Linked DNA regions of Homo sapiens: regions 1, 2, 3, 4, 5 and 7 are each linked to region 6. Evidence: promoter capture Hi-C in 16 types of primary human blood cells and fetal thymus (Javierre and others, 2016). All regions are on one chromosome and are shown on one strand. The core of a region is centred on a gene start or on the middle of the fragment in contact, and the rest is flanking DNA. Distances in the headings are between cores, read along the strand shown.

Region 1 (2,967 bases), core at 36-2,535, 1.6 Mb before region 6:
GCGGCACTATGCCCAGCTAATTTTGTATTTTTGGTAGAGATGGGGTTTCACCACATTGGTCAGGCTGGTCTCAAACCCCTGACCTCTGGTGATCCTTCCACCTTGGCCTCCTAAAGTGCTGGGATTACAGGTGTGAGCCACTGTGCCCAGCCCCCCAGCTGTTTTATTTATTTATTTATATTTATTATTGTTATTTTTTTGAGATGGAGTTTCTCTCTTGTTGCCCAGGCTGGGGTGCAATGGCACAGTCTCAGCTCACTGCAATCTCTGCCTACTGGGTTCAAGCGATTCTCTTGCCTCAGTCTCCTGAGTAGCTGGGATTACAGGCACCTGCCACCACGCCTGGCTAATTTTTGTATTTTAGTAGAGACGGGGGTTTCACCATGTTGGTTAGGCTGGTCTTGAACTCCTGATCTCAGGTGATCCACCCGTCTCGGCCTCCCAAAGTGCTGGGATTATGGGCGTGAGCCACTGCGCCCAGCCTTATTTTTTGTATTTTTAGTTTGAGGCTGGCCTCGAACTCCTGAGCTCAAGTGATCCTCTCGCCTTGGCCTCCCAAAGTACTGGGATTACAGGCATGAGCCACCGTGCCAGGCCCACTTGCTGTCTTTAAGCTTCAGTTTCCCTCTCTGTAAAATGGGGGTAATACCACCCACCCCAACAAGGCGTTTGGTTAGGATTAAGTAAGATCATGGTGCCAGCCCTTAGACCTCAGTGAGTGTTTTACATTTTAAAAATGATTTTCCTCCCCAGCAGTTTTCCACGTCAAATTATTTGTTTCTAGAGAACGACCACGTAGCTGCTTGTAGCTGGCTTTCTTCGTCCATCCTTCCATCCACCCGCGGTTGGTCCCTGCTGGAGTCAGATCTGCAGCGGGCACTGTGGATCCAGAGGCAGCAGAGGAGAGGGGTCAGGAGAGGCCTCCCTAGGGCTGAGATCCCTGGTTGAGTTTTGCAGGCTGGCAGGGGAGCTGCATGTGCGAAGGCACAGAGGCCTGCCCGTGGAACTATGCGGAGCTTTATGAAAATCGGAATGGGTCAGGGGTACAAGCAAAGCCCCAGCGTTTCCAGCGTTCTTCCCAACCCTGTCGCCTGTCGCTCGACGCGGACCTCCTGCAAACGAAGCGCGGGTGCCCTCTGCTGGCCTTTCCGCGGACTGCAACTTCTACTTTGGGGACTCCCAGCCCCCGTGTCTTTGGGAGGCAAATGTCCATAAAAGCTGGAGTATCTCAACTGGAAAGACCCTCAGAAATCACCCACCCCTGACTTCCCGATGGAGACATGAGGCCCTGTGTGGGGCAGGGAGCTTGCACAGGGCAGGAATTCGGGCCCCTGAATCCAATAGAGGCTGGGCTGGCAGTGCCTGGGGTAGGGAGGTGCCCAGGGAGGGTTCTGGCCACGGAGCTCCAGCCTGCAGGAGGTGGGATGGGGGGTGGAGGGTGACTGCAGAGAGCAGAGGGGGTTTCAGATTCTCAGCCCCTTGCCCCATCTGGCTGGCTTAGTCGTGGGATTTCCTGTTTTGTCTTGGAGCAGCGGCATTGCAACCTGATAGCCATGAAACAGGAGCTCAAGATGAGTGTGTGTGTGTGTGTGTGTGTGTGTGTGTGTGTGTGTGTGTTTGTGTGTGTGTGTCTTGAAGGGTGATGTTGGCATCAATCAGTAGGTGTCCTGGGCTGGTGACATCACCCCCCTACTGCTCTGATCTTCCTTTAAAGCTCTTCCTTTCTCCACTCCTAAGTCCCCAGCGGCTGCCACTATCGCCTGGCCCTTGGTTCTCCAGCAAAGGTGGTGGCAGGTGAGAGGACATGAAAGCAGGAAAGACCCTTACCTTTAGAGCCCCAACAGAAGATAGCCATGGGTGCCAAAGCCCGGATGGGCTCAGAATGGGCAGGCTTCATAGGCGATGAGAAATGGGGAGGGTAAGAGAGAAGCAAGTTGAGGACAGTGCTCAAGCTTCTGGCCTAGATGATGGGTTGTGCCCTCGATGAGATGAGGAGCTTGGGAAGACCACAGTGACCTGATGCCTGGAAGCTCATCCTCTGTGGAGAGCACTGTTTTCTATATCATCCTCCTGGCAGGGTGGCTGTGTATGTGTGTGTGCATGTGTGTGTGTGTACATAGGCACTGTGTGTGTGCTGGGTATGCCATGTCCATCAGCTGGGAGACTGGGTTTACTAGGGATGGGGCCATAAGACCAGGAGGAGGCCTGCCTTGGCTAGGAAGTGACCCTTTGTTTCCAGTATGGATCACATCAAGGCCAGTAAGACTGCGGTCTGTTCCTGGTTGATGGTGGGCAAGGAGGGCCTGGCTTAGCCTGGCTTAGAGTGCAGATGGGAGTTCCAGGCCTGCACCCATCTTTCCCAGTAGGGTGGCCTCAGGCAAGTGCCTGCCTCTCTCTAGGCCTCTGTGCCCTCACCTGACAAATGGGGCCAATGAAGCATAGATGCGTGGAGAGGGCGAATGAGGCACTGCAGGAAGAGTGCCCAGTGCCGCGTCTGGCACACCGTGGGCCCTGGGTGAAGGGCGGAAGGTATTAGTATTTCTTAGCTGGCTGCTCTGGTGCTTGGTAGTCGGGACCCATCTCCCTGTCTGACTTTATTGCTCCTAGGCCTTCCTCCTCACTCTGCTCCAGCTGCACTGGCCCTCCTTCCATGCCTGGAGAACACCAAGTTCATTCCAGTAGGGAGCCTGCACCGCGGCTCTTCCTGCTGCTGGGTTCAGTTGTTGCATTGCCTGTTCCTTCTCAGCTCTCAGGTCCCTGTCTAATGTCACCTCCCTGGGGCAGTCTCTCTGACTACTATAGCAAGGCACCTACTGTGCCTCTCGACAGCCAGCCTGCCTTCCTTCCTTCTCTTTCTTTCTTTCTTCCTTCCTCCTTCCCTCTTTCCCTTTTATTTCTTTCTTTCTTTCTCTTTCTTTCCCTCCCTCTCTCCCTCTCCCTCCCTTTCTTTCTCTCTTTCTCTTTTCT
Region 2 (2,899 bases), core at 281-2,780, 1.7 Mb before region 6:
GGCCACATATTTTGTTCACTGTTGTATCTATATTTCACATGTGGAAACTTTCAGGGTGGTTGGTTTAACAAAAAAAAAAAGCTTTAAAAAAAAAAGAAAAAAAGGAAAAGGTTTTTAGCTCATTTGCCTGGCCGGCAAGTTTTGCAAATAGCTCTTCCCCACCTCCTCATTTTAGTAAAAAACAAACAAAAACAAAAAAACCTGAGAAGTTTGAATTGTAGTTAAATGACCCCAAACTGGCATTTAACACTGTTTATAAAAAATATATATATATATATATATATATATAATGAAAAAGGTTTCAGAGTTGCTAAAGCTTCAGTTTGTGACATTAAGTTTATGAAATTCTAAAAAATGCCTTTTTTGGAGACTATATTATGCTGAAGAAGGCTGTTCGTGAGGAGGAGATGCGAGCACCCAGAACGTCTTTTGAGGCTGGGCGGGTGTGATTGTTTACTGCCTACTGGATTTTTTTCTATTAACATTGAAAGGTAAAATCTGATTATTTAGCATGAGAAAAAAAAATCCAACTCTGCTTTTGGTCTTGCTTCTATAAATATATAGTGTATACTTGGTGTAGACTTTGCATATATACAAATTTGTAGTATTTTCTTGTTTTGATGTCTAATCTGTATCTATAATGTACCCTAGTAGTCGAACATACTTTTGATTGTACAATTGTACATTTGTATACCTGTAATGTAAATGTGGAGAAGTTTGAATCAACATAAACACGTTTTTTGGTAAGAAAAGAGAATTAGCCAGCCCTGTGCATTCAGTGTATATTCTCACCTTTTATGGTCGTAGCATATAGTGTTGTATATTGTAAATTGTAATTTCAACCAGAAGTAAATTTTTTTCTTTTGAAGGAATAAATGTTCTTTATACAGCCTAGTTAATGTTTAAAAAGAAAAAAATAGCTTGGTTTTATTTGTCATCTAGTCTCAAGTATAGCGAGATTCTTTCTAAATGTTATTCAAGATTGAGTTCTCACTAGTGTTTTTTTAATCCTAAAAAAGTAATGTTTTGATTTTGTGACAGTCAAAAGGACGTGCAAAAGTCTAGCCTTGCCCGAGCTTTCCTTACAATCAGAGCCCCTCTCACCTTGTAAAGTGTGAATCGCCCTTCCCTTTTGTACAGAAGATGAACTGTATTTTGCATTTTGTCTACTTGTAAGTGAATGTAACATACTGTCAATTTTCCTTGTTTGAATATAGAATTGTAACACTACACGGTGTACATTTCCAGAGCCTTGTGTATATTTCCAATGAACTTTTTTGCAAGCACACTTGTAACCATATGTGTATAATTAACAAACCTGTGTATGCTTATGCCTGGGCAACTATTTTTTGTAACTCTTGTGTAGATTGTCTCTAAACAATGTGTGATCTTTATTTTGAAAAATACAGAACTTTGGAATCTGGGTTTGTGCTTTATTTTAACCTCTCCCCCCACCCCACCCCCAGTGTAGTTCCCCAGGACAGCCCTTTCCTGCTCATGCTTCTTTCTGCTTGTTTTGTTGTTTTGTGAGGGTGGGAGGAGAGGTGCCAAACTAATGGCTCTTTGAGCCCAATTTAAACCAAAGATGTTTGGTTCAGCCTGCCCAGTGCATTCAGAATCAAGATACTGCACATACAAATCCAGATTTCCAACTCTGCACATCAGAATATTCTCCTTGGGCCCCTGAGATGAGCTGTCTGGGTTACAGCACCGTCTGTCTGGGCCTCTCCTCCTCCGCGTTTCCTCTGTTTGGGCTGCTCCATTTGCTCCCTGCCAACCTGTGCCCACTACTGAGGCCTGCCAAGCAGTCCAATGTCTGAGCATGCTCATCTCTTCAGACTGGGGAGCCTCTTTTAGCTTGTAACACAGGAGGCTGGAGCTCACAATTGTGCCCGTGGCCCTAGCCTGAGGATGCCATCTGCCCTTCTTCACCGACTTTGCTCCAGGGGCAGATTTGGTAAGTGTTGGCAGTTACAGGCTGGGTCCAGCCAGAGAGGCCAGGTGGAAGCCCACACCAGCTGGTGTCTGGAAGTGGAGCGTCAGGATGGTTGAAGGAACTTCACATGGGCCCCTCAAGGGGAAGGGCTAATCACTAACAGGCCCTGGGAATAGGGGGAGAAGAAAAGGAAGCTGAGGGGATGCAGGTTTCCAGTCCAGCATGTGATTTTGCCTCAGCAGCTGTCGTTGGGGCCCTTTCCCAGCATTCCCCACTGCAGTAGCCATCATGGCGCTTGCAGAGGTGGCATGCTGCGGGCATTGGGAACTGCAGTCCATGCTGCTCTGATAGCATGATTCCAGTCAGATTGACCTGGGGTCACATGTGGGTCTCGCCACTCTGTGTGCACTTGGGCAAGTTAGTTCACCTCATCTTTCACCAAATTCCTTGCTGGAAGTGGACCAAAGGTAACAGATCTATGTAAAGTGGCTCTCTTGTCATGTCATGGGAAATTATGGCAATTAAATTGTGTCCAGCACACTGGTGTAATAAATGATACCAGTTTCCCTGCACAGTTTTTGATGAACAAAACTATCTTTGTTCATTAGTTTACATAATAATGTCATTTGTTGTGAACCGACTCTGCGTCAAGTCACACATGAGATGGTTTTCACATGTTCTCAACAACTGTTCTGGGAACCAACAGCCCTGTGAAGAATGCGGCTGTCCCTATCTCATAGATGTGGAAATAGGTCCTAGGATCTGATGCAAGTCTTTTGATAGACCAACTCTGATCAATAAAGCTTTCCCCTTAGTTCATCATGCGAGGGGGTGGGCATGGGGGCAGACCCCTCCATCTGCAGGATTGGGTTTCATGGAGTGGCCTGGGCTCTGGGCCACCCCCTCTTCTGACCACCATTACTCTGCTACCAAGTCCGTCCCAAGGATTCTATGGCCCGGGCT
Region 3 (2,819 bases), core at 289-2,788, 1.5 Mb before region 6:
ACTGCTCTAGGGCCTAATACAGTGCCTGGCACATAGCAGGCATTCAAGACATACCTGACGCTGCTTGGAGAAATGAATGATGCAGTCGCCTGCCAGATTAGTATATTCACACTGTTCCCCTGGAGGATGCCAGAACAGACCCAAGTTCCCTTGATGACAAGGCCGGTGTGTGCGGGGCCACACGGTCTCCACACACGCGTCCTAATGGGGGCATCCTCACAAGCAAGCACAGGTAGTGGGCTCCAGGAGCCGAGGCAGAGCTGTTCTGTGGGGAGTGTGACCTTTCAGTCAGATGCATGCCCTAGTTGATCTCCTCGTTTGTCAAAAGGTTTTAATTGTTCAGGTACATATATAGCCAGGTGCGGTGGCTCACACCTGTAATCCCAGAACCTCGGGAGGCTGAGGTGGGAGAACCTTTTATCCCAGGAGTTCGAGACCAGCCTGGTCAACAAAGTGAGCCCCCATTTCTACAAAAGATAAAAAAGTTGGCCGGGCATGGTGGTGCATGCCTGTGGTTCCAGCTACTTGGGAGGCTGAGGTGGGAGGATTGCTTAAGCCTGGGAGCCCGAGGCTACAGTGAGCTGTGTGCAGCATTGCACTTCAGCCTGGGTGACACAGCAGGACCCTGACTCAGAAAAAAGAAAAAAAATTATATATGTATATATATTCTGAATTTGTTGGTGGTCTAGACCTCCTGCTCTTTAGCCACTTGTTGGACAGTGGCCCGGAGCCCCAGGCCTGATAGATCCCAGCCCTCCAAGCCCCTTGGCCAAAGAAACCCTTCCCTGCTGGGTGAAGCAGTGTGGCTGGCCCAGGCAGCAGCCCCTGGAGCCTGGTTGGTTCAGGTCAGGCCTCTCTTTCTGCTCCCTGCCTTTTGCCACAGCAAAGTCTCAGGTGTGGGGTGGCGTAGGGGGTTGGATCTGGGCAGTAGGGGTGGAGGAAGGCAGACAGATTTGGGAGGTGGGAGGGAAGCAGAATCCACAGGGCTTGGCGATTGGGAGGAGGTGGAAGTGAGGGTGAGGAGAGAGAGGAGGCTGTGCTGTGGTCTCTGGCTGGGCAGTGGGGAGGCTGGAGGGGCCAACACCCAGAGGGGTCAGTTTGAGATGTATGGAGTGCACGATGGGTGCGGTGTGTGCGTGTGTGTGTGTGTGTGTGTGTGTGTGTGCACGCCATACAGGGGTACTAAGACTCAGTGGCTGATCTGGGCAGGGACTAGCCACAGCTGGGGTCCCCAGAGTAGGGATGGTGGCCCTAGAACAGCAGGGGTGGCCCCCTCATGGCCTGGCCCTTCGGGCTGCTCTGTGCCGGGCACTGGCAGGAAGAGCCTGAGTCACAGTTGGGCTCTTCAGCCTGCAGCTGGCTGAAAATTTATGGATGTCCCTGAGAGGGGTGGTCAGGAGGCCTGGCTGGCTGACGGGAGCTGCCTAGCTGTTTACCCAGTGCCGAGGAATTTGAGGGCAGCAACAGCCCAGTCGCTTTGGAGGGGGTCCAGCCTCTGGGTGCAGCTGCTTGGAGTAACCTGCCTGGTGCCGGGGCCTGGCTGAGAGGGGCCAGGCCTCAGAGAGCATGGATTTGGACACCTCTTTGATGTTATAGACAGGAAAACAGAAGTTGGAGTGGGGAAGTGGCCATTCCAAAGCCCCACAGCAATTCTGTGCTCCAGTCAAGACCAGAAACCAGGCTAGGAAGGCAGCAGGAGGAAGTGATGGAGAGCTGTCACTTGCTGAGATGCTCTTGTTCATGTGTGTCCTTGTTCACCGCCTCCTCTACTAGAATGTTTGCTCCATGAGACCAGGGACCTTGTCTGCCTTGTTCACTGCTATGTCCTGAGCACACAAAACAAGGCTCTTGTTGAAGGGATGAAGTCAGAAGGCCTGGGGAGGTTTTTTTCCCTCACATTACAAGATGTACAGAGAAAGGAGGTTCAGGGCTGGTGCAGAGGCTTCATGATGGCATCAGGGATCCCGGCTCTTCCTCTCTTTCCGCTCTGCATTAGGGTATCGTTTTTGTTCTCATGGTCCCCAAATGGCTTCTGTGCCTCCAGGCATTGCACCTGCATTTACAGAAGGTCGAAGGGAGTTAGGACAATGGGTAGAAGACATGTGCTTATGAAGTCTGTCCCTTTCAAATCAAGAAAGTTGCAGCTTTCCTAGAAGTGACTAAATCGCACACCATGTGTAGTAGTTCTCTACCTTGCTTCTTCTTCTTCTTCTTCTTTTTTAGGTATCTAAAGCCTGGCCCCAGATTTGGTCCTCAGTGGGGCCTATCACTTTTGTTGTTTGCTAGTGGTTGTTGTTTCATTTTTTAAAATAAAAATCCCCTAGCTGGGGGAATGACCTAATGAGGTAACTCCTACTGTGGTGTTGATGGCAGTTGTGCTATTTTGCCACCAACTTCTTAAGGTGCCTGGATCTCTGAGGTTTTTCCTGAGGATGAGGTCAGCAGCAGGGAGGAGGGGGCTCTGGCAGAGGCTGGTGCTTAGGAGGGAATTACCTAGTCCTTGCAGCAGCACACTGGATGCGCTATGACAATCCCCACTCTACAGCTCAGAGTGAGGCAGAGGCTGGTTGGAGACCAGGGCCAGGAGGGAGCCGGGTTTTCCAGCTCCCCATGGATAGTACGGCTGCACCCATGATCTAAAATGCTCCGTCCTGGGGTGTGCCCAGAGCTGTTATTCAGCAGGAGGCTGCTGGCTCGGCTATGCAGACTTTGCAGCCAGTGCTCCTTCTGCCTGCTGGTCCCATCTCCCTGGAGCCTTCAGCCTGCAGTGCCTGTGGCAGCAGCAGACTAGGATATGGTGTCATTGTGCCCCTGGGTGC
Region 4 (2,841 bases), core at 78-2,577, 1.4 Mb before region 6:
GGGTTCAAGCCATTCTCCTGCCTCAGCCTCCTGAGTAGCTGGGATTACAGGCAAGTACCACCACACCCAGCTAATTTTTGTATTTTTAGTAGAGGTGGGGTTTCACCATGTTGGCCAAGATGGTCTCGATCTCCTGACTTTGTGATCCTCCTGTCTTGGCCTCCCAAAGTGCCGGGATTACAGGCATGAGCCACCACACCCAGTCCAGAATCACTTTTTATTAAATGTTCTATTTGAAGTTTTGGTCATGTATATCATAAATTTGACTCCAAATCCATAAGAAATAGTTACAATTTGTTTTCACAGTATTTCCTCTGTTCACCTGGCGCTGAGTTTGGGACAGACATGTTTTCTTGTTGCTCCTCTCTTTACAGCATGTTTATTTATTATTCAGCCATTCACAAAGGGTATAGTCCTTTGGGGTTCTCATTTTATGCTGGACTCTTCTATTAGGCCTATCACCGTGGTTGGCTCTGGGCTTTATCTCCTATGAATGTCTCCAGGGTTTTGTGAAACTTTGGGGAAAAATGCTAGTTTGGGTGCTTCTCACTGCCTAGGAATCCTTCTGTCTCTTTGTTTTTGGCCTCTTTGGATTTCATAATTTTGTGCCAGTTCATTGATGCCTTTAAAAGGATTAAAAAGAACTTTATCCAGCATTGAGGTTGTTTGCATGGGGAGAGTTGTTTAGGGTATCTGGTTGACCACACTGCCAAGAACAGAAGTTCAGGTGGGACATCTGAGCTGGGCTTTGAAGGATGGATGGGAGTTTTCCAAGTAAAGAAAGGAGTGGGGAGAAAGCGAAGCCTGGAAAGGGAATAGCAGGGTGAAAATGAGGCATGGGGGCAGGAAACTACACAGCATCTTCTGGAAAGGGCAAATGGGTCGAGACTTGTCTTATAGCAGGTGCTCAGAAAGGGTTTGTGGTTATCTGACTGTGAGTGCATTTGGCTAAGGACACGTGCTCAGGGGATTGCTTAGAAGCGAGGCTGGAGAAGTACATCAGGGCCGAATCATGATGGGCCTTAATGCCTGACAAATGGACTAAATGCAGAGGGATAAAATATTGAGAAACCTAAATCCTAAGGAATAGGCAGAGAAAGAAAGTCCTGCTGAGAAGACTGAGGAAGAGTGGACTGAGACACAGGAGGAGACTGCGAGAGACCTTGGTGAGGGCAGGCTTAGCGGGGCCAGGTGGGGTAATCGCCAAGAGCATCTCCTACCAAACAGCCTTGTACTCAATTGGGGAACTGGTGAGGGACATGCTGAGTAACTTAACTGACAGGATACTGAGCATATTTCTATATTAAGACAAATATGAATATCTTATGAAATGAAACATCAATGGTTCATAGTATTAGAGATAAAATATAACTCAGTGCTTGTTTTCATCAGGGCTCTCCAGAGAAATAGAACCAATATATACATATATGTGTATGCATGTGTATATACACATACACACATATGTAGATACTATGTATATGTATCTATATACATGTCTACATAGTATTATAGATGCTGTAGTATCCATAGTACATAAATACCGTGTGTGTGTGTGTGTGTGTGTGTGTGTGTGTGTGTGTGTATAGAGAGACAGAGAGAGATTTATTTTATTTTATTTCTTTTTGAGACAGCGTCTTGCTCTGTTGCCGAGGCTGGAGTGCAGTGGTGCAATCTCGGCTCACTGCAAGCTCCGCCTCCCGGGTTCACGCCATTCTCCTGCCTCAGCTGGGACTATAGGCGCCTGCCACCACGCCCGGCTATTTTTTGTTATCTTTAGTAGAGATAGGGTTTCACCGTGTTAGTCAGGATGGTCTCGATCTCCTGATCTCGTGATCTGCCTGCCTCGGCCTCCCAAAGTGCTGGGATTACAGGCGTGAGCCACTGCGCCCGGCCCAAGAGAGATTTATTTTAAGGACTGGATCACACAACTGTGGAGGCTTGGCAAGTCCAAACTCTAATGGGTGGGCCGCCAGGCTGGAAACTCAGGGAAGAGTTGCTATCTGGGTCCGCTAGCAGAATTCTTTCTTGCTCAGGGGAGCAAGTCATTCTTTATTCTACTCGGGCTTCCGACTGATGGGATGAGGCCCACCCACATTATGGAGGGCAATCTGCTTTACCAGAAGTCCACCAATGTAAATGTTAGTCTCATCTAAAAAGTGCCCTCAGAAACACCCAGAACAATGTTTGACCAAATATCTGGGCACCATGGCCCAGCCAAGGTGATACATAAACTTAACTACCGTGGTGCTTGAGGGCATCAGCTTTGGTTAAAACCCCTGAGCCCGGTGTGGTCTACTCTCTTCCACTTTTTGGAGAAAGCATGTGGAAAGCATGTGAAAAGCATTGTTCCTTCCCCCCCGTGCTGGGGCTGAGTCCTGGAGGGGATGGAAGAGCCCCCCATGTAGCAGCTACAAATTTCAGTTCAGAAGTCCATGAGATGTGGCTTGTTGTCTTTTCTCATGATCCTGACACATCTGGATCCTATCCCAGGGTGTGTCTCACTCCAGGGCCCATTCACCATCTTGGCATCTGTAGAAGCATCCCCTGCCCTCCCCTCGGCCACGGAGTCATGCAGGGAGCTGGGCTTGATCTGCCTGCAGGCCTGCTTCGAGTCAGCCTCATTGGGCTTCTTCTATGCCATACCAGTTGCAGGAAACACTGTGTGGCCACCTGCAGCCACAGCCCCTGGATACCTCAGCATCCCTTTCTTCCTGGGACTCCAGGAGGGAAAGCTGCTCCACGCCCCTCTGCTCTCAGATCCTTTCCTTCCCAGGCATAACTCCAGGAGGCAGGCGGGAAGGAAGCCCCCAGGATAGGAGTCCATTCTGTATTTAACAGGTA
Region 5 (2,758 bases), core at 254-2,753, 1.5 Mb before region 6:
TTTGTTCCTGCATTTGTCAATGCATTAATTCACACACACATCTGGGCATGATCAACCCCACTGTTCAGCCTTTTTCCAGCCTGTGGGCAGACAGACCAGGCCCCAGAAAGGGCTCTGAACATGGCTGGTAGAAAACATGTGATTCCTCCCATGTCACTTAAAGGTACTGGAATTGTAGGATCTAGGGCATTATAGCATTTGGGTCTCATGGTCCAGGAGCCCCAGATCTCTGCCCCACCACCCCCTCCTCCCAGGTCTCTCAGGGACTGGGCACTAATGGGTGGACCCCGGAGGTGACCGGAGCTGCTCATCAGAGGGAAGCCTGCCACCACTCAGTCGTGTCTGTGTGACCTGGGCTATATCACCTTCCCTCACTCTGCCTGGGGTGTCCTTTCACCCCGGGCTTGGGGTAGGACTTATCTGAGCATCCAGGTGGCTCTGGGTAGGAGAAGGCTCTGCCTTGGCTGCATTTGCAGAGAGCAGAGGCCCTGGTTTTATAGAGGGGTATTATGGTGTAAGAACACAAAATAGCAGAGACTCTTTATTCCAGAAAATTAAGTCATCCTTTTTCCTTGAGCATCTCACTTCTGACCAAGAAAGGCTGGTGGTAGAGACTGGGCCCGGTTCAGGGCTGGCTCTGTTGACCCAAGAGGCAATGACACAGATCTTGTCCAAAATCCATTCTGTGTGTTACAGTGATCTGAGGGCATCCTGCAGCTAAGTGCCCACTGGTCGGCTGCAATAATTAATTGATTTTATTGCCTATACTTGAGGCCTCTGGAGCCTTGGCATGTAAATACATGCAAATGAGCAGAGGAGCGGGTTGAATCCAAAGCCTGGGGGAGTATCTGCCTGGATTGGGCTAATTTCTCTGCTCACCTTTCCTGCTGTAATCCTACTGTGTTCTCAGGGAGCAGGAGAGTGGGGGACAAGGAGAAGGGGCCTTAGAGCCAGAGACACCTGGGTTCAAAGCCCAGCCCACCCCTTCCTGCTGTGTGTGGTCGTGGGCGAGTCCCTGCACCTCTCACTCTACCTGTCTCCATCATTGCGGGGCGGGGGTGGGTGGGGGGTGGGTAATGATCCTCCTGCCCTGCAGGGCTCTCATGGGCCTGAGGAAGCAGCACTCAGGAAACATGCCTCACACCCTTGCTGTAAGAAGCAGTGCAGCTTAGAGCTCCTAAATTATGTATTTCTGAGGTGGCGGGGAGGAGAGTGCAGTCATCTGGGCTTCGCAGCCCTGGCAGAGCAAGTGCTCCTTGAAAGGAGGTGTTGTGATTTCCCCTAATGAATGATGGCAATTGCTCCTTAATCCAGCCCTCGCCTCCTTTCCCATCCAGTACGGTACGTTTTATGTGTGACCTTTGCTGAAACACAACAATCTCTCTTCACATATTGGGGGAATTACAAGAAAGCTTGGAATTTAAACATCCTGAAAGATTTATTCTATGTAGTGGGTGGAATAACCCTCACAAAAAACATACAAATTATGTTAGGAGAAGTAGGTCTGAGGTGGGCTCCAGGCCTGGCTGGAGCCTCTGATGAGTGGGGCTGGGGACTGGAGGCTGCTCTGATCAAGGGTTCATGCAGAAGCTTCTTTGATTCTTGGTTCTGTCTGCATTGTATGCAAGTTATAGCATTTGATGGGCTTTGTCAGGACTGGTGGGTGCTGAGGTTTACTGAGCACCTACTGTGCGCCAGGGCTGCCCCATCAACCCATGTGCTGTCCCCTGACATGGACATGGCCACTCCCACTGTCCCGGAGGGGAGTCTGAGTTCCTGAGGATGACTGACTTGTCCCAGGCCACTCAGCTCGTTAAGTGGCAGGAGGGGAATTTGAACCCAGGTCTGGTTGACCCCAAAGTCCCTGCTTTTCCCCTGACCCCATACAGGAGGGACAAGGGGACTTGTACATCAGGGGGAGCTGAGACTGCAGACATTGGTGGTAGGACTTGCCACTGATCCAAGCCTGGGCTAGGTCCACAGTTAGTTCAGCTCAACGTTGGGTCTTTTCCTGTGAAGCACAGGCTGCTCACTTGGAGGTGGGTCCCATGAGGGCTGTTCCTGGGCCCCGGGAATGCACATCTCACTGGAGGAGCCAACATTCCAAGCAGACAGTGGGGAGAGAGATATGATGGCATTCTGGGGAAGCCCAAGTCACCCCTGAAGAGGCAGGCTGTGGAGACGACACTGAACTCACAAACGGGCTAGGAAGGGCACCTGGGCAGGGGGCTGGGAGGAGCGGAGGCCGGGGTGGGAGTCGACTGGCAGATGCATTCATTGAGCAAACCTCCATTGATACCACCAAGGAAACTTGTTGTTCTCTCCACTGCATCCTGTTCTCCCCCACCTTTTTTCTCTTTCTCCCCACTTCCTCCTCCTTGTCTCCTCCTCTTCCTCTTCCTTACTCTTCTCTTCTTCCTCCTTCTTTTCTCCTCCTCTTCTTTCTCTTTCTCCTTCCTCTCTTCTCTTCCTCTTTTTCTTCCTCCTCTCTTCTTCCTCCTCCCCTCTTCCTCCTTGCTTCCTCTTCCTCCTCTCCCTCCTCCTCCCTCTCTTCTTCTCTTCTTCCTCTTCCTCCTCTCCCTTCCACATCCTCCTCCCATTCTCCTCCTCCAGGTAGAATTAACCCCTGCTATCTTCCAGGTCCCAGTGTAGGCAGCACCTCCTTGGGGAGCTCCCTGATCCCCCAGGATGGGCTAGGGGACCCTGTAGCTCCCACACCCTCTGTGTCTCCCTCATCAGATCCCACGGTGCTGCCATC
Region 6 (2,856 bases), core at 271-2,770:
AAAACAAGTACAGACATTTAGTGAGCACATACTATAAGCCAGACCCTAGTCTGAGGGTTTTATGTGTGATATTTCTCATTTAATCACAATAACCCCCGATAATATTTATCAAATGCTTCCATGTGCCAAGCATTGTACTAAATGCTTCAAGTGGATAATATCTCACTTGACCCTCACAACAATCTTGAAACAGATAACTAGTATTCCTTCCATTTTAAGAGTAAGAAAGTGAAGACACAGAGAGGCCTGGTGACTTGTCCGAAATCAAATGGCTGGAAAATGGCAGAGCTAGGACATAAAGCCAGGTTTGTCCAAATCTAGCTCACAGTACTTTGCTGTGCTCTCTTCCTCAGAGGAAAGGCTTGGAGATGGCAAGCTTCAAGTCAATAAAATCCAGGAAAGGAACTCTTCCTTATCCTTCAAAGCCCTGGCTCAGTATCTTAAAACCTGTTTCCTGGGACACCTGCATCAGAATATTCTTGGGAGCTTGTAAGGATGTAGATTCCTGGAACCCCCATCCGCAAGATTCTAATTCAGTAGGTCTAAGATGGGACCTCGGATTATTTTTATGCACACAGAAGATTTTGAATCACAGGGCTGGCTCTAACAGCACCTCCTCCAAGAGCCCCCACCCCATCCCACCCCATCCCAGAGCACTTCTCTTCAGACTACAGCATTGCACTCTGGCACGAGCCACAGCTCGATCTGGGGTTTTAGTAATGTTCATGTCTTCCCTACACCAAAAATCAGACTAGATCCTTCATAGGGCTACACCTTTTTACAGGCATTTCCAGTGTTCCACTTAATCCCTTTCTACACTGTGAGCATTTTGAGAGAGGACCCTTCTCCTTGTGATTCCTGTCTTACATCTGAACAGAGTTTTTTACAATGCGTTCTCCCACCCACAATAGCATTCCTCTATTATTTCATCCAATCCTCACAACAATCCGGAAGGAGGCATATTATCCCCATTGTACCGATGAGAAAAATTCAGAGTTTCACCTGCCCAAGGTGGCCAAGCTAGGAAGTGGCAGGGCTAGGATTTGAACCTAAGTTTTCTAACTCCAAGCCCCATACTCCTGCCTCCACAGCAGCTTTCGTGTACTCTCCTCAGTGTAGGGAAGTAAGCTTTGCCTCCCTATGCCGTTACATGGTAGTGGTGATTAAATGAGATAATACCTTAAAGAGCCTGGCTCGGTGAGCACTCAATATATTATGTGAAGGGTAAACTGAGGCCAGGGAGAGTAAATATTTCCTCCAAATCAAACACCAAACTGCAGGCTGTAGACACGACTTTGGACTAGCCCCAGACTCTCCTTGTTGAGACAACAGCTTTGGCGGCCTCGCAAGCTCCGCACCCCCGGATCCCTCCGGGGCCCACACGCAGTCTAGCCAGGCGCCACCACTTGGGCAGCGAAGGAAGGAAACGCCCTTCAAAGGGACCAAGGGGGAGTGGTCACCCGGCGGGGCAGGGGCGGGGCGCAGGCGCGCGGTCGCTGGAAGATGACGTAGCCGGGGCGTCAGGCTCTGTGTTGGTTGGAGCGAGCATGTGGGTCTGCAGTACCCTGTGGCGGGTGCGAACCCCCGCCCGGCAGTGGCGGGGGCTGCTCCCAGCTTCTGGCTGTCACGGACCTGCCGCCTCCTCCTACTCCGCATCCGCCGAGCCTGCCCGGGTCCGGGCGCTTGTCTATGGGCACCACGGGGATCCAGCCAAGGTCGTCGAGTAAGAGACGGCGCCGAAGCCGGGGAAGGGGACTGGGGTTTCTGGAAGGCTTTAACACGAGCTGCGGACTGGGAAGAGAGGGACAGGGTCCGAGGAAGGGGGCAGAGAATAGCAAACCGAAGCCGAAGCCCAGGGCGTTTTTGGTAGGTCAGAAAGACCGTACTTGAAGGTAGCTGAAGACCCGAGAGGCAATTATCAGGGTATTAATGGCTGATGTTTATTGATCGAATATTGTGTCAGGCAATCCCTTGTTTAAATGGATGCTCTCATTTAATTGTCACAACAATGTTTTGGGGTAGTTATTGATTTATCCCCATTTTGCAGATGAAAACTGAGGCAGAAGAGGTAAAATCACTCGTCCAAGGTCACACAGCCAGTAAGTGACAGGGTCAGAATTCCAACCTATGTCTGACTGACCTGCGTGAGTTCTTACTATTATTATTATTATTTGGAAGAAGTTTTCAGAATACTTTTACATCCATTTGGATCTTCATGTGTCAGTAAAGAGTAGGTCATAGATCATTGTTTCCAGAGGGCAAGGGACTTGCCCAGAGTGATACCGCTAATAAGTGATTGGAACAGGAGACTGGAATCCATGGCTTCTGATTCCAAACTCATGTTTCTCTCCACTGCACCGTATATGCATCTTGGCTTGGTTAAAAAGAGCTGCTTTGGTGCCATACAGACCCAAGTATCTATATTTGGTCAAATACAGGCTCAACGTCTTAGTAGCTGTTTGGTCTTAGAGAAGTCATTCAACTTCTCGTTACTTTTATGACTTTGTCCTCCTCCTAAAATTCTGTTGGATCTTAATTCATGCTTTTTGCACGTGGTTGATAAAAATAGTATGTCAGTTGCCAACCATTGTAAATCTGCACATAAATAGCCATTCAGAAGGGCTATTGGGGCCACTGAAGTGGAGCTAAAGCAAAAGCACAGGTCTGGGAATCAAAATACTTGGGGTCAAATCCTTGTCCTAGCTTTGCATTTGGCAAGTTACTGAGGTTCTCTGAGCCTCGGTTTCATCATCTTAAAAAATGGAGACAGTACAGACAAAGTTCATAGTGGTAATCACCTAAGATCTATGTAGTGCTCTCCACCAAAAAACACCTGCATACTCTTGTGCAGTACCT
Region 7 (2,793 bases), core at 39-2,538, 1.5 Mb before region 6:
GTCAGGCTCTGAGGTTGCCTCGCTCTGTGACTGTGGGCTGGTCCCCTGCCCTCTATGAGTCTCGTGAGCCATCCGGCAATGGGGACAAAGTCCTCCCTCGTCCCCTGCCGCAGGGTTGTTGAGAAAAGGTGAAATGGGGGAGGGTGAGCCTGGGTTTTAAATGCAGGTGGTTTTCACAAAAGTAGAAATACCTCTGGTGCCTGGTGCTGGGGCTGAGGGGAGGGAGGGGGGACTGCAGAGGGAGAGGGGATGGGGGCGCCTCTCTGCCTCCACTGAGGCACTGAGGGGAAGGGTTAGGCCTTAGGCAGAGCCCGGGTGGCTGGAAGATGCCGGGCAGCGGAGGGAATTGGCCAAGATTTGAACCCTAGCCCTGCATATGACCAGCTGGGAGGCCTTGGGCAAGGCCCTGGACCTCTCTGAGCTGCACTTTCTTCGTCTGTGAAATGGGAAGGAAAGTATTAAGAATAGTCCCTTTTCTGGGTAGTGGGGAAGATCATGTGGCATGGAGTTAGGCTGTACAAATGTCCCCTTCTTCCCCTGGGGTGATTGGAGGGGTTACAGGGCAGTAAGGGATGCTTGGAGGAGAACAGAGGAGTTGTAGGGGGAGTTGAGGATTAGTAGAGGTCTCTAAAGTCGGGTAATGTCCAAGGTGACCTCATGGCCTCAGGAGGACAATATTAAAATTTCTAAATTTTTCCATCATATAATTTTTTAATTTCTGGAAATTTTTTAGTAGCTGTTTTATGATGTTCATGATAAACTAGGACAGCAACACATGCGTGTAATTTAGAAAGAAAGAAAAATAGAGGCGTGTGTGCAAAAGGTTTTACTGACATAGATGCATGATCAAAATATCTAAGTCCTCTCCGGGGTTCAGGCTAGCAGGGCTCTGAGGCATTTTGGGGGTCAGGGGAATGGGAAGGCATCAGAACAGCACTGGGAGACTTGGGCTCCTCCCTCAACTTGCTGTGTGTCCTTGGGCAAGCCACCTAATCTCTCTGAGTTTATAAAACAAGCAGAGGAAGCTTATAAAACAAGTACATGCAGGCTCCTTCTAGCAAGGGGAGGTTGAGATGATCTGATTCTAGGCTTTGTTCCAGATCTCAGATAATCCTGGAATCTTGAGACTTTGAAAGTCTTCTCATTTCACAGCTGGCAGATGCTCATGGTCCTTCTCTAAGCCCAGCTGTGACTCATCTGTGATCTGCTTACATACTCCCAGGAACAGGGAGCTCACCACTTCACAGGACACCCCGTTCTGTGCTGGACGGAGCTGTCATCTGCCTCCCTTTCTCTTTCTCTCGTTCAAGGTGAAACTGAGAGGAGAGGGGCTGCGGCCTGGCCTTTAGGGGCTGAGGAAGGAGTTTTTTTCTCTCAGGGCTGTTTCCTGTGAGTGTCAGCCACAGCCCTCACCACACCTGCCTTCTTTTTGGGGTGTTCTCAACTTTCCTGATGAGACAAAGCCTTTCCAGCTCACTCTTTAGCAGGTAGAGGGGGCAGTTAGAGCATGCACCGTGCTCCTGGTACTACTGCCGAACCACGTAAGCTTGCCCCAGCCAAAAGCAGATTCTGTTTGCTGGGCACCCCCTGCCAGTCCCTGAGCTCAGTGCTTTGCAAATATAATGCAATTTAATCTTCACTAAATCCAGTGATTGCAATTTTCCAGATGAGGAAACTCAGAGAGGTTAAGAGACTTGCCCAAGGTCACACAGTGACCTGGATTCAAAATCCTCTTGATCTGATTCTGGAGCCCAGCTCTTCATCACTCTTCCGTTCAGTCCCTTTCCACGCCCCTAAACAGGATGTAATGTGGCAGGAAGACAAGTTGAGACCTGTGTCTGAGCTAAAAAAAAAAAAAAAAAAAAAACCCACACAGTCAGCAAGGGGGAAACAGATGGTGGGTGGCTGGTTGCCTGTCAGCTGAGCATGAGTTACCAGTGCAGGGCTGCCTAGAAAGCCGATGTAAACTTAGGGCCATATTAATAGAGATAGGGCACCGACTAGAGGGGAGGGGACAGTTTTCTTGTTCTTTATATGGGCAGAGGTTACCTGGAGAACTGTATGTATGTCATAGGGGAAGGGTGGAGGGCTTGCTGTGAGGACATGGACACACATAAGGTTGTGAGTTCCCCATGGCTGGAAGCACTTAAGTAGAGGCTGCATGGCACAGGTTTATGGGAGGCATGGATAAGGTGACCTCCAAGGTTCTTTAAAACTGCAGTTTTGTGGCTGAACTTCAGTTGTTTCTAGGGCCACCCCAACACTCAGGCCTATCAGATTCGCCCCTTCCACATCATTCTTAGCAAGGGTCATCTGAGAGTGTGGGGTTCATTTGTTCATTCATTCATTCATTCATTCATTCAACAAATACAACAGCTAGGGGAATGAACAAAGAGACATACAGGCTTTCCCTGCCTGGAACCTACAGTCGAATGGGGATAATGGATAACAGCACAGATTGAGTGCTTACTATCTGCCAGGTACTTTAAGTGAATTATCCCATCTGGCCCCACCACAATCCTATGAGGAAGATGTTATTGTTCCCTGAGGGGCCATGGGAGACAGAGATTCAGGGTTAGATGCTCTCCAGGGCCCTCCTGGGCCTGTGTTGATGATTCCGGGAACCTGAAGCTCTATGGTGCTCTCTGATCCCCAGAGCTTGTTGTTACAGAAGGGGATGCAGTGGAGGGGCCTTCAGCTTCTACCCCCCACCCCACCTCTTTAAGCCTGACCTTCAGTAGTAACAGTTACCACTCTTCCTGAGAACTGGGCCTAAGGGCTCTCCTGGGATAG

Evidence for each region. Contacts are between HindIII fragments. The CHiCAGO score rates a contact against its expected background, and 5 or more counts as called.
Region 1: a fragment that was not itself captured here is called in contact with the fragment with the promoter of MECR in region 6 in 2 of 17 cell types (total B cells and naive B cells); the score reaches 9.9 in total B cells.
Region 2: a contact is called between a fragment that was not itself captured here and the fragment with the promoter of MECR in region 6, in 1 of 17 cell types (naive B cells). The highest score is 6.5, in naive B cells.
Region 3: a contact is called between a fragment that was not itself captured here and the fragment with the promoter of MECR in region 6, in 6 of 17 cell types (endothelial precursors, naive CD8 T cells, total B cells and 3 more). The highest score is 7.8, in endothelial precursors.
Region 4: a contact is called between a fragment that was not itself captured here and the fragment with the promoter of MECR in region 6, in 2 of 17 cell types (total B cells and naive CD4 T cells). The highest score is 8.6, in total B cells.
Region 5: a fragment that was not itself captured here is called in contact with the fragment with the promoter of MECR in region 6 in 13 of 17 cell types (total B cells, naive B cells, megakaryocytes and 10 more); the score reaches 17.8 in total B cells.
Region 7: a contact is called between a fragment that was not itself captured here and the fragment with the promoter of MECR in region 6, in 2 of 17 cell types (naive CD4 T cells and fetal thymus). The highest score is 5.5, in naive CD4 T cells.

Annotation. Positions count from the first base shown.
Region 1 is chr1:30,800,078-30,803,044 of GRCh38, reverse strand. No RefSeq gene overlaps it. Among named protein-coding and RNA genes, the nearest start is that of LINC01778, 23 kb to the left of the region's middle. RefSeq lists an enhancer at 969-1,263. The HindIII fragment of the contact is 1,338 bases long and covers 617-1,954 here.
Region 2 is chr1:30,930,030-30,932,928 of GRCh38, reverse strand. PUM1 (pumilio RNA binding family member 1) reads left to right here. Exons shown (of 22, transcript NM_001020658.2): 22 at 1-1,423. Among named protein-coding and RNA genes, the nearest start is that of SNORD103A, 4.3 kb to the left of the region's middle. The HindIII fragment of the contact is 2,423 bases long and covers 319-2,741 here.
Region 3 is chr1:30,762,341-30,765,159 of GRCh38, reverse strand. No RefSeq gene overlaps it. Among named protein-coding and RNA genes, the nearest start is that of LAPTM5, 6.0 kb to the right of the region's middle. The HindIII fragment of the contact is 4,408 bases long and covers 1-2,819 here.
Region 4 is chr1:30,670,564-30,673,404 of GRCh38, reverse strand. No RefSeq gene overlaps it. Among named protein-coding and RNA genes, the nearest start is that of MATN1-AS1, 47 kb to the left of the region's middle. The HindIII fragment of the contact is 9,811 bases long and covers 1-2,841 here.
Region 5 is chr1:30,692,528-30,695,285 of GRCh38, reverse strand. No RefSeq gene overlaps it. Among named protein-coding and RNA genes, the nearest start is that of MATN1-AS1, 25 kb to the left of the region's middle. The HindIII fragment of the contact is 178 bases long and covers 1,415-1,592 here.
Region 6 is chr1:29,229,598-29,232,453 of GRCh38, reverse strand. MECR (mitochondrial trans-2-enoyl-CoA reductase) reads left to right here and starts at 1,520. Exons shown (of 10, transcript NM_016011.5): 1 at 1,520-1,723. The coding sequence starts at 1,548. RefSeq lists enhancers at 1,509-1,618, 1,143-1,643, 1,644-2,144. The HindIII fragment of the contact is 2,647 bases long and covers 1,131-2,856 here.
Region 7 is chr1:30,742,870-30,745,662 of GRCh38, reverse strand. The region is part of intron 1 of LAPTM5 (lysosomal protein transmembrane 5); the gene reads left to right. LOC105378620 (a long non-coding RNA gene) reads left to right here. Exons shown (of 2, transcript XR_007065566.1): 2 at 1-1,873. Among named protein-coding and RNA genes, the nearest start is that of MIR4420, 5.0 kb to the right of the region's middle. RefSeq lists enhancers at 1-93, 104-163, 1,605-1,734. The HindIII fragment of the contact is 521 bases long and covers 1,028-1,548 here.